Linked DNA regions of Homo sapiens: regions 1, 2, 3 and 5 are each linked to region 4. The links are contacts of gene promoters, found by promoter capture Hi-C in blood cells and fetal thymus (Javierre and others, 2016). All regions are on one chromosome and are shown on one strand. Each heading gives the region's core, a stretch centred on a gene start or on the middle of the fragment in contact. The rest is flanking DNA. Distances are from core to core; before and after follow the strand shown. Region 1 holds the start of OR8B3 (olfactory receptor family 8 subfamily B member 3). Region 2 has its middle 3.9 kb from the start of PANX3. Region 3 has its middle 20 kb from the start of OR8A1. Region 4 holds the start of VWA5A (von Willebrand factor A domain containing 5A). Region 5 has its middle 12 kb from the start of OR8B2.

Evidence for each region. The method cuts DNA at HindIII sites, captures the fragments that hold promoters and counts their contacts. A CHiCAGO score of 5 or more calls a contact.
Region 1: a contact is called between the fragment with the promoter of OR8B3 here and the fragment with the promoter of VWA5A in region 4, in 2 of 17 cell types (total B cells and naive B cells). The highest score is 5.5, in total B cells.
Region 2: a fragment that was not itself captured here is called in contact with the fragment with the promoter of VWA5A in region 4 in 1 of 17 cell types (total B cells); the score reaches 5.9 in total B cells.
Region 3: a fragment that was not itself captured here is called in contact with the fragment with the promoter of VWA5A in region 4 in 3 of 17 cell types (naive B cells, total B cells and M2 macrophages); the score reaches 10.9 in naive B cells.
Region 5: a fragment that was not itself captured here is called in contact with the fragment with the promoter of VWA5A in region 4 in 1 of 17 cell types (total B cells); the score reaches 5.6 in total B cells.

The regions. Positions count from the first base shown.
Region 1 is chr11:124,397,574-124,400,273 of GRCh38, forward strand. It overlaps OR8B3 (olfactory receptor family 8 subfamily B member 3), which reads right to left and starts at 1,451. Exons shown (of 2, transcript NM_001005467.2): 1 at 1,117-1,451. The HindIII fragment of the contact is 12,656 bases long and covers 1-2,700 here.
Region 2 is chr11:124,606,131-124,608,830 of GRCh38, forward strand. No RefSeq gene overlaps it. Among named protein-coding and RNA genes, the nearest start is that of PANX3, 3.9 kb to the right of the region's middle. The HindIII fragment of the contact is 6,490 bases long and covers 1-2,700 here.
Region 3 is chr11:124,588,586-124,591,285 of GRCh38, forward strand. No RefSeq gene overlaps it. Among named protein-coding and RNA genes, the nearest start is that of OR8A1, 20 kb to the left of the region's middle. The HindIII fragment of the contact is 1,064 bases long and covers 808-1,871 here.
Region 4 is chr11:124,114,013-124,116,712 of GRCh38, forward strand. VWA5A (von Willebrand factor A domain containing 5A) reads left to right here and starts at 1,438. Exons shown (of 19, transcript NM_001130142.2): 1 at 1,438-1,470; 2 at 2,554-2,668. The HindIII fragment of the contact is 2,481 bases long and covers 1,146-2,700 here.
Region 5 is chr11:124,371,578-124,374,277 of GRCh38, forward strand. No RefSeq gene overlaps it. Among named protein-coding and RNA genes, the nearest start is that of OR8B2, 12 kb to the right of the region's middle. The HindIII fragment of the contact is 152 bases long and covers 1,200-1,351 here.

The sequences.
Region 1 (2,700 bases), core at 201-2,700, 280 kb after region 4:
TCCTGTCCTTACTAGAAGACAGAGAGGTGGAGTAGCTGAGGCACAGGCCTACCTGCTGTTGAGCTTGGGTTATGTGGATGTGTCTCATCTCCCTCGCTTCCATCTGGCCCTTCACTTCCTAGTTTCTTTTTTTTTTTTTTAAGATGGAGTTTCACGCTTGTTGCCCTGGCTGGAGTGCAATGGTGGGATCTCGGCTCACTGCAACCTCTGCCTCCCGGGTTCAAGAGATTCTCCTGTCCAGCCTCCCAGGTAGCTAGGATTACAGGCACATGCCACGATCCCAGCTAATTTTTGTATTTTTAGTAGAGACAGTGTTTCATGATATTGGTCTGGCTGGTCTCAAACTCCTGACCTCAGATGATCCACCTGCCTCAGCCTCCCAAAGTGCTGGAATTACAGGTGTGAACCACCGAGCCTGGCCACTTCCTAGTTTCTACTTATGTTTCCATTATTCTACTAGACACTTCAGTTTCCTTGTGATGACCACCAGGTAAGGGAGGATTCCTTTAGGGCAGAGACCATACCGATATTCTGTTTCCTAGACAGGGGTCTCCTATAGGGTTTCTAGATACCTTACTATAAGAATCCATGAAGTCACCAGGTGATAACAGAAGACCCTTAGTAGTCAAAGCCTTATGATTCACCACATACAAATCACATAAGTGTTTCTACACATTCTCCTCTATTCCATCCTAGCTAGACAGGATGAAGAAAGGAAGCTGAATGTGCTTTCACAGGTCTTTGTAGGAAGGCATAAGAGAAACATAATTAATTTGGGTACAGTTATATTAGTTGTTAAGTTTGTAAAATTTTACCAAACTGGTATTTTTATGACCCTTAAACTCTTCTATATGTATAGCACATGTCAATATATTTTTTAATAAAGAGACAAATATCCTTTCCTGGCATTCCTCTGTTCTGGATGTGTCACTTGGAACTGCTATTGCTATCTTGATACCAGGCTAAGAATGAAGCCAACAGAGAGAACAGTGTGAGAAAAATGCAAGCCCAAGAGTCAGAGCTCCATACCACTAAGTTTCTTGCTATTGAATAGAATACTTTTCCCCATTTTTCAGCAACATCCAGGAGAGAGAAATAGAAACTTGATTAACTCACCTTCCTTCCACTCAGAGAACTCAGTGCTGACCATTGATATGTGTTTCACCTCCACTGCCCTGGAGGAAGAAATGGCTGTGAAGGTATCTATGTTGATCAGATGTAGTCACAGAATCTTCTTCTCCCTTGACTGGCAAAAGCATTGAGCAGAGATCTCAGAATCTGAATGTTCTGGGAATCATTTTGTGGTGTAGATCAAACTATTATTTATAAATTTGCCAAGAGGGTTTGTTGGAAAACTGCACTTCAAACCAGAGCTACCATGTCATAGAGCACATGGCATTTGCTCAAGGCTTACAATTCTTTTGGACCTGATTACATATCCCCCAGTAAGTCTCTCTCAGGACCTCCCCTACCATGACAAACTCTGCAGGGAAGAAATTGTATGCCCTTGTTTACAGCCTAATTTGTTGTAGTAGAGGTAAATTTCTCATCAGGGATTATACAATCCACAGGGCATAGGAGAAAGAGCATCTGCTCTCATGTATAAAGATGTAAATGTAATGATTGTCAGAATTTTTGCTAATTATAATCCTAGGTAGTATATTAGCTTTAACAGGAATGTAAGTATAATTTAGTGAAGTTTATATGCTCATTTTTAATATTGTGAGTCCTTTTAAATAATCTTTCAAATAATCCATTTTTACTTTTGCATACTTCATAGGCATAAAGAAAAGGGATACTTTTAATTGATTTCAGATTTTTTAATAAAAATTTTGTGTAACATAGAATTATCCTTTATTTCATAAAAATGTATTTACCTTGGGTTGCTCTAACTCAACATGTCTTTGTCTTTCATGTTAAAATCAAATCCGTAAGAAAAATCACTATTCATGGGCCGTTATTTCAAGACAGTGTGACTTTAGAATTTCTCTGTAGGTAGGAATTTGTGCTTGTGAGAAGGCATCTATTTTTTTACCTTTTTATTTTAAAATTACTAGAATCACAAGAAGTGGCAAAAGTCATACGTAGATTCCCTTGAACTCTTCACCCAGTTTCCTCACATGGCGATGTCTTCCACGACTATAGGACAATAGCAAAACCAGGAAATTGACATAGGTTCAATAATGTTAACGAAACTACAGACCTTATTCACTAGTTTAACATGCTCGTATGTATGTGTGTGCAAATCTATGCAATTCTATCCCATGTACATATTTATGTAACCACCACCTAAGTCAGGATACAGAATTCTCTTTTTTTTTTTTTTTGAGACTGTGTCCTGCTTTGCTGCAATCACAGCTTACTGCAGCCTCAACCTCCCAGGTTCAATAGATCTTCCCACCTCAGCCTCCCAAGTAGCTGGGACTACAGGCACATGCCACCACCATTGGATAATTTTTGTATTTTTTATAGAGACAGGATTTCATCATATTGCCCAGGCTGGTCTTGAACTCCTGGGATCAAGTAATCCACCTGCCTTGGCCTCCCAAAGTGGTGGGACTACAGGAGTGAGTCACCATACCCAGCCAAAAATATCCATCTTAAAAGAGATGTATAAACTTTTGTTTTCTTATTTTTTATTAGTAATTATTATATGTATTTATGGGATACAATGTGGTGTTTTGATAAATGTATACATCA
Region 2 (2,700 bases), core at 102-2,601, 490 kb after region 4:
AGCTAAGCCCCTCCCAAATTTCTGATCTGTAGAATATTTGAGATAATAAATTTTTTTTGTTTTAAGCCCTACATTTTGGGGTAATTTTTTATGCAACAATAGAAAGCTAGTGCATTTAAGCTATGTTAAGAGAAACTAGAAAATCTGATTAGTCAGGCCAGGCGCGGTGGCTCACGCCCGTAATGTCAGCACTTTGGGAGGCTGAGGCGGGGGGATCACCTGAGGTTGGGAGTTCGAGACCAGCCTGGCCAACATGGTGAAACCCTGTCTCTACTAAAAATACAAAACTTAGCTGGGCATGGTGGCACACGCCTGTAATCCCAGCTACTCCAGAAGCTGAGGTGGGAGAATCGCTTGAACTCTGGAAGCAGAGGTTGCAGTGAGCCGAGATAGCGCCACTGTGCTCCATCCTGGGCAACAGGGTGAGACTTCATATCAAAAAAAATAAAATAAAGTAAAAGTTAAAAAAAAGAAAATCTGAATAGTCAAATATTGACTAAGGAAATTGAATCCATTACTAAAATTCCACACAAAGAAAATCCCAAGACTAGGTGGTTTCACCTGTAAATTCTGCCAAATATTTAATGAAGAAATAATACCAATACTGCACAAACTCTTACAAGAGGAGGCAGATAAAGAAGAAATACTTCCTAACTCTTTTGGCATGGCCAGCATAACCTGCCAAAGACCTGATAAAAAAGGAAAATTAAATCAAGTTCTTTCTTCTTTTTAAATAGAAATGTAAAAATCCTTAACAAAATATTAGCAAACTGAAACCAGTAAAAAATTTAAAAGGTAATATATCTGAACTAAGTGAGATTTATTTCACAGATGCAAGAGTAATTTAACATTCAAAAATTGATCAATATATCTCATCAAAATAATACACATAAAGATAAAAATCATATGAGCATCTCAAAGTATGCAGAAAAAATATTTTTAAAAATTGAATATTCATTCATATCAAACACACTTAGCAAGCTAGGAATAAAGGAGAACTTCTTTAATGTGAAAAAGAATTCCTACCAATAAAAAAAAAGGAAAAAAACCTACAATGAACATCCTGCTCAATAATAACACTGAAAACTTTCCGCCTGAGAGAAGGAACAAGACAGAGATACCCATTATCACTACTCATATTCAATATTATACTGGATGGCCTAACCAGTGTAATAAGGCAAGAAAATAAATAAAAGGCATAACGATAGAAAGAAAGAAAGAAAGAAAGAAAGAAAGAAAGAAAGAAAGAAAGCTGTGATTTTTCATAAATGATATGGTTGTATAGATTTTTAAAAATCTGAATTAATCTACAAACTATTAGAATCAATAAATGAATTCAATAAGATTGACGTATACAAGATCAGTGTACAAAAATCAGTTGTATTTTCATATGTGAGCAACAAACAATTAGAAAATCAATTTTTTAAAAAATATATGGTTAACAATAGCATCAAGAAACATCAAACACCTAGGAATAAATCCAACAATAGATGTGTAAGACATCTGCACTTAAAACCAAAAGTTGCTACGGACAGAAAGACGTCTTTTTTTTTTTTTTCTTTGAGACAGAGTTTCACTTTTGTTGCCCAGGCTGGAGTGCAGTGGCACGATCTCGGCTCATGCAACCTCCACCTCCCGGGTTCAAGTGATTCTTCTGCCTCAGCCTCCCGAGTAGCTGGGATTACAGGTACCTGTCTCCACGTCCAGCTAATTTTTCGTATTTTTACTAGAAATGGGTTGTCATCATGTTGGCCAGGCTGGTCTCGAACTCCTGACCTCAGGTGATTCACCCACCTTGGCCTCCCAAAGTGCTGGGATTACAGGTGTGAGCCACTGCACCCGGCCTCAGAAAGAAGTCTTAAGCAAATGGAGGGATATGCCATGTTCATAGATTTGAAGACTAAATGCTGTAAAGAAGGCAATTTTTCCCAAATTAAGCTGTAAATTAAAGTCACAATCAAAAATTCCAGCAGGTTTCTTTCCTGCTGAAATTCAAAAACTGATGGTAAAATTCATGTAGAAATGCAAAAGATCCAAAATAGCCAGAGCAATCCTGAAGAACAATAAAACTGGAAGATCTACACTACAGGTGCCAAGACCTACTATAAAGCTATACTAGCTAAGATATTGTAGTGTTGGCAAAAAAAAAAAAAAAAAAAAAAAGACATTGTCAGCTGGAACACAGTCACCTGATTTATGACCATGACAACACTGCACTGCAATGAGAAAGGAAAGGTCTTACAATAAATTGTGCTGAGTCAGCTGGATAGCCATATGGAAAATAATATTTCTTGACTCATATCTCATACCATATGTTAAAAAAAATTATAGATGAACTGCAGACCCAAATGAGAAAGATAAAACAAAAATATTTTGGAGAACACCTAGGAAACATTTTTCATGGTATTGTAATTAATAACCAATTGCTTCTTAAACAGAATACATATAGCACTATCCATAGAAAAAAATGATACATTGACTGTATTAAAATTAGAAATTCTGGTCATCAAAAGACACCATTAAGAGAATGAAAAGGCAACAAGTGGAGTGGAAGAAGATATAAATAAAACATATTGCTAGCAATGGTCTCACATCCAGAATATTTGAAAGAGTACTACAAATCAATAAGCAAAAGACAGACAACCCAACAGAAAAACAGGCAAAAGACTCAGACGTACACCCACATCCATCCACAAAAGA
Region 3 (2,700 bases), core at 90-2,589, 470 kb after region 4:
GCGTTTGATCAAATTCAATACCTTCAATAGTTCAATCATTATTTTTAAATATTCAGTGAAATAGGAATCAATGACATATTCTAAAGGTAAATGTGAAAACATCCTTATAGTAAAAATATTAGATACATTCCCATTAAAGCCTGAACTAGACCAATATGTCTACTATCTCTTCTATTAATTAATATTGTAAAGTAGGGAACCAATGCAATTAGACAAGAGAAAGAAATTAAAGGCAAAAGAATCATAAAGGAAGAGGTACAACTATCTGTATAGGCAGATACTATTATTAATTTTTTGGAAATTCCAAAATAATCCATGAAACATACTAAAAACAATACCAGTTACGTTGCAGGAGTAAAATTAGAAATCAATATACTTCGTATACAAACAATAACCTGGTAGAACATGTCACAATAGATCTCATTACAATAGAAAATAAAATTTCTAATCAAAAATCTAGTTTAAAAATGTACAAAACCTACATGACTAAAAGTACGCACATACCTAAAGGACACAAAAGCATATCTAACAAACAGAAAGGCATACGGTGGTCTCCCATTGTCAGACTCAACACCAGAATGTATCAGTTAGTTCTAAGATTGTAAATGTAACATGATCTTGATAAATATAGTAGGAGGGTTTTTTTTGTTTTTTTTTTTTTTTTTTTTTTGTCTGGAGGAAGACAAACTGATAATGAAGTTCGTCTGAAAGAATAAATAGGCAAGAATACCATGGAAAATCCTGGGGGCATGAGGGATCACAACTTGTAGAAGCTAACCCTAACATACGTGAAAACAACATAATTAAAGCTTCTGTAATTAAAGCAAAATATTAGCACGTGAATGGGGTGGTAGTCCACTGGAACAGAATATAAAACAAATCAAAATGTAGTTTAATATTTGATGAAGGTAGCAACTAGAATCAACAGGGGAAAGGATAGGTTATCGTTTTTTAACGGTGAGGGTATAACTGGATAGCCTTATGAAAAATAATAAAATTAGATCTATTTCTCACACCACAAACAGTATAAATTTCAAATACATCCAAATGTAAAAATTAAATTCATACAAGTTCTGGAAAGGAAAATGAAACATAGACGAAGTTATTTATAACCTGAAAGTAGATTATACTTGGCAGACAATTATTCAAAACCCAGAGCCTATAAATAAAATTTTAATAAATGTGACTATATTCTAGAAAGCGCTTTTTGCCTGGAAAAAAATTGTAAGAAAAGTCAGAAGATAAAAAATGAGAAAAATCTATATGGAATTTATATCTCAGACAAAAAGCTAATATATTTAATAATGACCTTCTAGTATTTGAAAATAAAAAGACCTACAACCCAAGACAAAAATGAGCAAAAGACATAAATAGAGACTTCAGAGAAAATAGATATATTAATGGCTCTTGAACATATAAAAAGATATTCAACTTTTCTCATACAAGAAATGCACATTAAAACTATAGGAAAGATGCTTCAAGAAAAAGGAGGGTTGAGACTTTCTCTTCTAATCATGATGGAGTAACAGGGTCCTGACTTGCCCCCTACCCTAAATCATTAGAAAACCAGAAAAAAATGTGCAAAACAACTGTCTTCAGACATTGACAAAAGGTAGCAGAAGATTGTTATTCCAGAGGGAGAAAAGGGAAAACGAATGAGAATTTCCTGCTTAGAGGCAATTTCAGGAAGGCAGGGATCAGGAAGAAAAAGGGCTTGGTAGTCTCACTGAAGTGAAGAGACAGACGTGTTCAGGAAGGTCAGAGCAGCAGGAAGCTGTGGAGCAGAAAGTGAGAAGAGGGAGCTCTGCAAAAAAGAACCCCACAAATCTGCACAGAGGTCTACCGGAGACTTTGGCTTGATACCTAAGTTAAGCTTAAAAATGAACTTCAAAAAGATCAAATTGACCCTCAAGATGCTTAAAAGCCTTCCAAAAGAATTCCCAACACACCTTAAAGGAATATAACAAAATTTAGCACTCAACAACATAAAATCTATTATGTCCGTGCCTGATTGAAAATTACTAGATGTGGAAGAAACATAAAAATGTGACCTGTAGCCAGAAGAAATTTCTTAGCAGAAACATCCCAGAAATGACAGAGATGATGGAACTGGCAAATTGAGCTTTAAAATTAGCTATTATACGTTCAATATAGTCAATATTTTTTTTAAAGTAAACATGATGCTGAGAGAAATGGAAGATACCAAAAATAACCAAATGGAACATCTAGAGATTAAAACATATATAATATCTGTAAAGAAAAATAATGACTTGATTGTATTAACATCAGATGCTGCAGAAGAAAATATCAATGCACTTGAATACACAGTGATAGAAATTATCCAAATTGAAACGCAGAGAGAAAAAAGACTGACATAAAAATTGAATAGAGGCTGGGCGCGGTGGTTCAACCCTGTAATCCCAGCACTTTTGAAAGCCGAGGTGGGAGGATCACGAGGTCGAGAGACCGAGACCATCCTGGCTAACACGGTGAAACCCCGTCTCTACTAAAAATACAAAAAATTAGCCGGACGTGGTGACAGGCGCCTGTAGTCCCAGCTACTCGGGAGGCTGAGACAGGAGAATGGCGTGAACCTGGGAGGCGGAGCTTGCAGTGAGCCGAGATGGCACCGCTGCACTCCAGCCTGGGCGACAAAGCGAGACTCCGTCTCAAAAAAAAAAAAAAAATCCTAACACAAAG
Region 4 (2,700 bases), core at 188-2,687:
TTTTTTCAACAACCAGCAACTTCTGTGTGTTTCCTGATTCAGTGCCCTCTAACCACGCTGCATGCCTGGTCTGTGGCAGACTTTTAGTGCTAAGCTCTAAGCCCAGCAGGATCAGATGATGAACTCTGCCCACGTTTCCAGCTCCTCCCTTTTGTTGCTCAGATGTTTCGGCCAATGGAAAGAAGGCACAGTCACAAGGAACAATACCAGACATGATTTCTCTCCAGAGAAAAGGATAATTTCCTCTCATAATTAGTTCAGTACATGTAAAAAACATGGTTGTAGGGCCTAGTACTGATAAAATAGAATTTGTGCTTATATTATGCTTTACTATATATGCATATATTACATGCATGTAACTGTATATACATGCATGGGTGTACATATATACACATATATACATCTATGCATGCACATCCATGTATATAAATGTGTATGTGGGTGTATATATATAAAGTATATAAATGTGTGTGTGTGTGTGTGTGTGTGTGTATATATATATATATATATATATATATAAAACTTTTATAGCCACTAAGATTCATTAGATCTCACAAAAACAATCAGTGGAGGTTTGTCATTATCCCCGTTTCAGATGAGAGAACAAATAACTTGGGGAGAGTTATTTGTATATAACAAATATCTCACAAAAACAAGTATATAACCAGTATATAACAAGTATATCCACAAAAAATACATCACAGAGACCAAAATCAAGCTGTGTTTTCCATATGTATCATGTATTCTTTATCCTATAGATTCTCGACAGCAATATGACACTTTAAGTCTCAGATTTAATAGGTTGTTTTGAAATAGAGAAGCCATGGGGACCTTGATCGCTTCTAATGTCCTTTAGCCAGGTAAATGAGCATAGACATTCTCAGTTACTTACATCGTTAACCCAAACATTTGGTTTCAGGATCCCATAAGCGACCCATGACAGGAAGACTTGGGCTTCCCTGGCTAGAGCTTCTCTCATTAGAGCAGATGTGTGTGCCTTGCACTATCTCCTTATCTTTCCCCCTGCTGTAGGGGAGGGGCAACTTGGGGGAAAATGACTCACATTAGAGATAAGGTGTCAATGATATAATCTCCATAAAGCTTTGATTAACAGGGCCCAGGACACAGTAAGCCTTTGGCAATTAAGCTTTTACAAAAATATGCAGTTTTTAATGTCATTGTTGTTGTTCCTGTTGCAGCATTTTCCCTTGCCCTCTTTGCCTGTTCTCTGATTGTTCCTTAGCAAAGAGCAAAGAAAAAAACCAAACGTTCCAAAGTCGAAGACTTTTCCTTTGATACAAACAAGCGAAAGTTCGATTATTTGTTCAATAATTTTCCGTTGATCCCTTAGTCTTGTAGTCGCTACTTTATAACCGGTCCCTAGAAGGGGGCGGTTCTTTCCGGAAATTATGACTGCAGCTGTTTTCACTCCGCTGTGACTCAGAGCGCTCCGGGCTGCAGGAGAGGAAGGTAGGGGACCAAGCTACCGGTGCAGGGCCTGGATCCAACCCCTGCTCTGGAAGACTGAGAGCTCCACATTCTAGCTCCCTTTCCCCAGTCCCCAAATTTGTAGGGGCTCCTTGAATTGCACGCCCCATGGGTGGAGGATTTCATCCTGATGTATGATCCCCAGGAAGGTTCCTGCAAGTTTGGCAGTTTAGGGGAATCTTTTGGAGGTTGAAGGAGGGATTTAGCCATCTCCTAATCTCAAGGCCCTTCTTCCTACTTTCCTTCTCTTTTACTTTACTTTTTTTCCCGCTTTCTTTCTTTGATATAGACAATTGATGTTTTCTCAGTTTCAGGATAGTGTAAGCTGAGGAAATGAGGCTGTAAGCCTCATCTACTCCAATCAGTTGCAGCCCCTAAGCCCTTCTCTATAGAAATGTAAGAGACCGACGCAGTCTCTTCTGTAAATACGTGGACATTGGAAATCTAGGACTGAATGGAAAGGTTAAATCAATCTCTGATTTTATCCAAGCCCCACTTCTTACCCCAAATCTCCTCCTTGTCTGGTTCCGAGTTCTCCACTTCACCCCTGCCACAGGCCGCAGGGGTGTGTGTGGCCGGTGGTGCCACCCAGCTCCCCTCCCACCCTCCTAGCTGCTGAGCGGCTGGTGCTGGGACTCTGCATTCCTGAAGCAGCTACCTGGCTAGGCCGGAAGCCTTGTATTCTCCCAGCTGCCTCAGATTCATGGCTTTCAGCTTGGTGGCCAGTCTCTACCTAAGCCTTGCAAGTTGCCTTTCTGAAGTGCCATCCTGAGAGACAGAACTAATTCTGACCCAAACTAATTTTGTTTGTACTGGGAAGAGTGGGGGCAAGGGTGCAGAATAGCAAGTTTTCCTCAACGGAGGATTTGTTCTGAGCTTAGAATCAGGAAGCGAAGGCTATTTCCTTGTAGGGGTGCCCTTTGCGTCTCTCTCTCTTTTACTCTAGCCACCTTGGTGAGTATTGCCCAGCCTGAGAGCTTCTCTTTCAGCTGTTTTACTCCTGTGTGAGTCTCCTGCTTTAGGCTCTCTGCTTAATGTGTTATTAGAAATTCTTCCCTCCCCCAGCCCAGCCTGTTCTACCAGAGAACTTGCCCAGGTCAGAGGTCTGCGTAGAAGCCCTTTTCTGAGCATCCTCTCCTCTCCTCACACCTGCCACTGTCCTCTGCGTTGCTGTCGAATTGTGAGTCATTTTGCCACACTCAGTTTTTATCC
Region 5 (2,700 bases), core at 26-2,525, 260 kb after region 4:
TTTAAAACCCAAAATACACTTAAAATCAGAATTGTGATGTTTTATTTTTATTAGATAACATTTTCAAATAAAATATCTTCATAATAATCAACAAAAATTGGTGCTTGCTCCTGGAAAGTAATTTTTTCTATCAGGTTTTGTGAATAAAACAACTACTTGTAATTACTGCATGAGAATTCTTAGTAATTATAACTAACAAATATTTACAATCACCACCAACAACAAATTTGAATGTAAAAGTAACAGAATTTAAAATTGTTTTGAAAAAATCAGCCAAATATTTAAAATTGAAATCCCATTCAAATAATGCAAATGGTCTTTTCTTTCATTGACAAATTTTATTTTAAAGCAGTTTGGAACCAAGTTCACTTTTTTACTTAATATTTCCAAATAACAAAGATACCCTAATTTGCAGTAAACTTGTGCATTTTTAGACCAGTCATGCTAACAGATGATACTAACAGAATATATCAGCTGGAAATGGGCAGAAGTATCTGATCTGGGAACAGAGAGTCCAGACCACAGAGAGCAGCACTTAAAGCTGGGCACTGTACTTCTTGGGCACCTGAAAACCCCGTCAGCAAACCCATGGGCCTCTTGTTCACAATAAGCTGTGTCCCCCTCTGCATGTGACAGCTGTAGCTGGTATCCAGGGGTGAAGCATCTCTTTGGTTGGAATTTTAAAGTGGAGCAATGAGTGCTATCTTGTCTCACTGCTCTTGCTCCTGCCAAAGACATGCTGTGCTGTCACATCATACTTCTTTACTCTTGACCACCCAGGAGCCCTTCCCAAGCTAAATCTGCCAAAGCAACCAAACTGAAATTCCCAACCTGGCTATCCTAGGCTCAGTACCTTAACCTCAAACCCCTTTTGCCATTCTATCTGCTGTGCAGTAGTTAGAAAGCTCTGTCCCAATCTATTTTCATAAAGGAGAAAGAATGAGACGTTTGGAAAGAAGTACCTCAAAACCTTTTCATTAATAAGTCAGCCTTGCTGCTATGTCAAATCCAGGACCTGGTAACATTTCAATTCCTTCGGGTGATGAAGTGAACTTGGTTGGTCAATAGGCACCATTTCATGAACCTCAAAATATAATTTCTAACTTAACGTTTTTCCTGAAAGTTAAACCTTGGGATATTGCCATTTTAAGTTAATGCAATATAATCTGTGTTTAAAATATATGTAATTAATATAATTAAGCTTTTATGTAAAAAAGAAAGATTTTATGTGTCTTTAACATATGTTAGTATGTTTTTCCAGTTTGAATTGTGTGCATGGAGAAACTGTGATACAACAAATAAGAAACAAGTATTTGACAATAGCTATATCTTTACCAAATTACACATACAAAGCTTGTAAACATTCAGTAATTGTAAAATAAGCTTATACATTCGAAAGTTATTTTATGTCTAATTTTCTCATTACATTAATTTTTTTTTTTGAGATGGAGTTTCGCTCTTGTTGCCCAGGCTGGAGTGCAACAGAGCCGTCTCGACTCACCACAACCGCTGCCTCCCAGGTTCAAGTGATTCTCCTGCCTCAGCCTCCTGAGTAGCTGGGATTACAGGCATGCACCACCACCCTCGGCTAATTTTGTATTTTTAGTAGAGATGGGGTTTCTCCATGTCAGTCAGGCTGGTCTTGAACGCCTGACCTCAGGTGATCCTCCCACTTCGGCCTCCCAAAGTGCTGGGATTACAGGCATGAGCCACCGCGCCTGGCCTCATTACATTAATTTTAAAAGATAATAGGCTTTAATTTAAACATTAGTTATAAATATTATTAGAAATGGTTTTAATTAAAAAAATCAGTTACACTTGCCAGGTCAACACAAGAAATTCAACCTGTAAAATAAGCCTGTTGACTTCACAGAACTAAGTCAAGCTAGTTGCTGATTCATTTTCCATGAAGGAGTGCTGGTGACTACAATACAGTACTCAGATCACAATGTATATTCTATGCCTGCAATTCACATTTTACTTTTTTGTTAAGTACTGGGTGGTTATAGACATGAATTTTATACACCTTTTTCTATGTCATTAAAACGTGAACTTCTAAAATATGTGCTTTAGAGCAAAATCCAAACCAAACAGTTTTAAGGTTTCTCTTTAACCAGGCACTATAATGAATGTAGGCACAAGAAAGGTAGAAGCAAATACAGACATTCAGACTCTGCTTCAGGAATAAAAGTTTTAAACAAAATTAAGTAAGATAAATATCATAATGAATATAAAAACTTGACTCTTCACTCTAACACCAATAATTTTAATCACATAGAAGTAAAGTACTTAGCCAGAAATATCATCTTCTAAGGCTATTCTCACAAAATGTTTTAGAACTTTTCAAAAATTATGGTATCTGCATAAACATAAAAATTACAATGATAATTAATCATGTCCCCTACCTATGATATATCCTTTGAGGGGCATCTTGCCCTAAGTTCATTCACAGTAGTAATGATGCAGGATTTTTCTCAGCCACTTTGCCAACTGGGGACTTCCATGGCCTGTGACACCCCCTACCCCCTGCCAGGGCCTTGCTCAGCCCGTGTCCTGCTGCTAGAGGCACCCCACCCACTCAGCCTGCCTGTCTTATAGATTGTACCCACATTCAGCAGTTCCTGAGCTCTTGTCCTGTGTCCAAGAAGAACGAGGTTACACTGACAATTCAAAGGGTGAGGATGGGCAGAGAAGAATTTT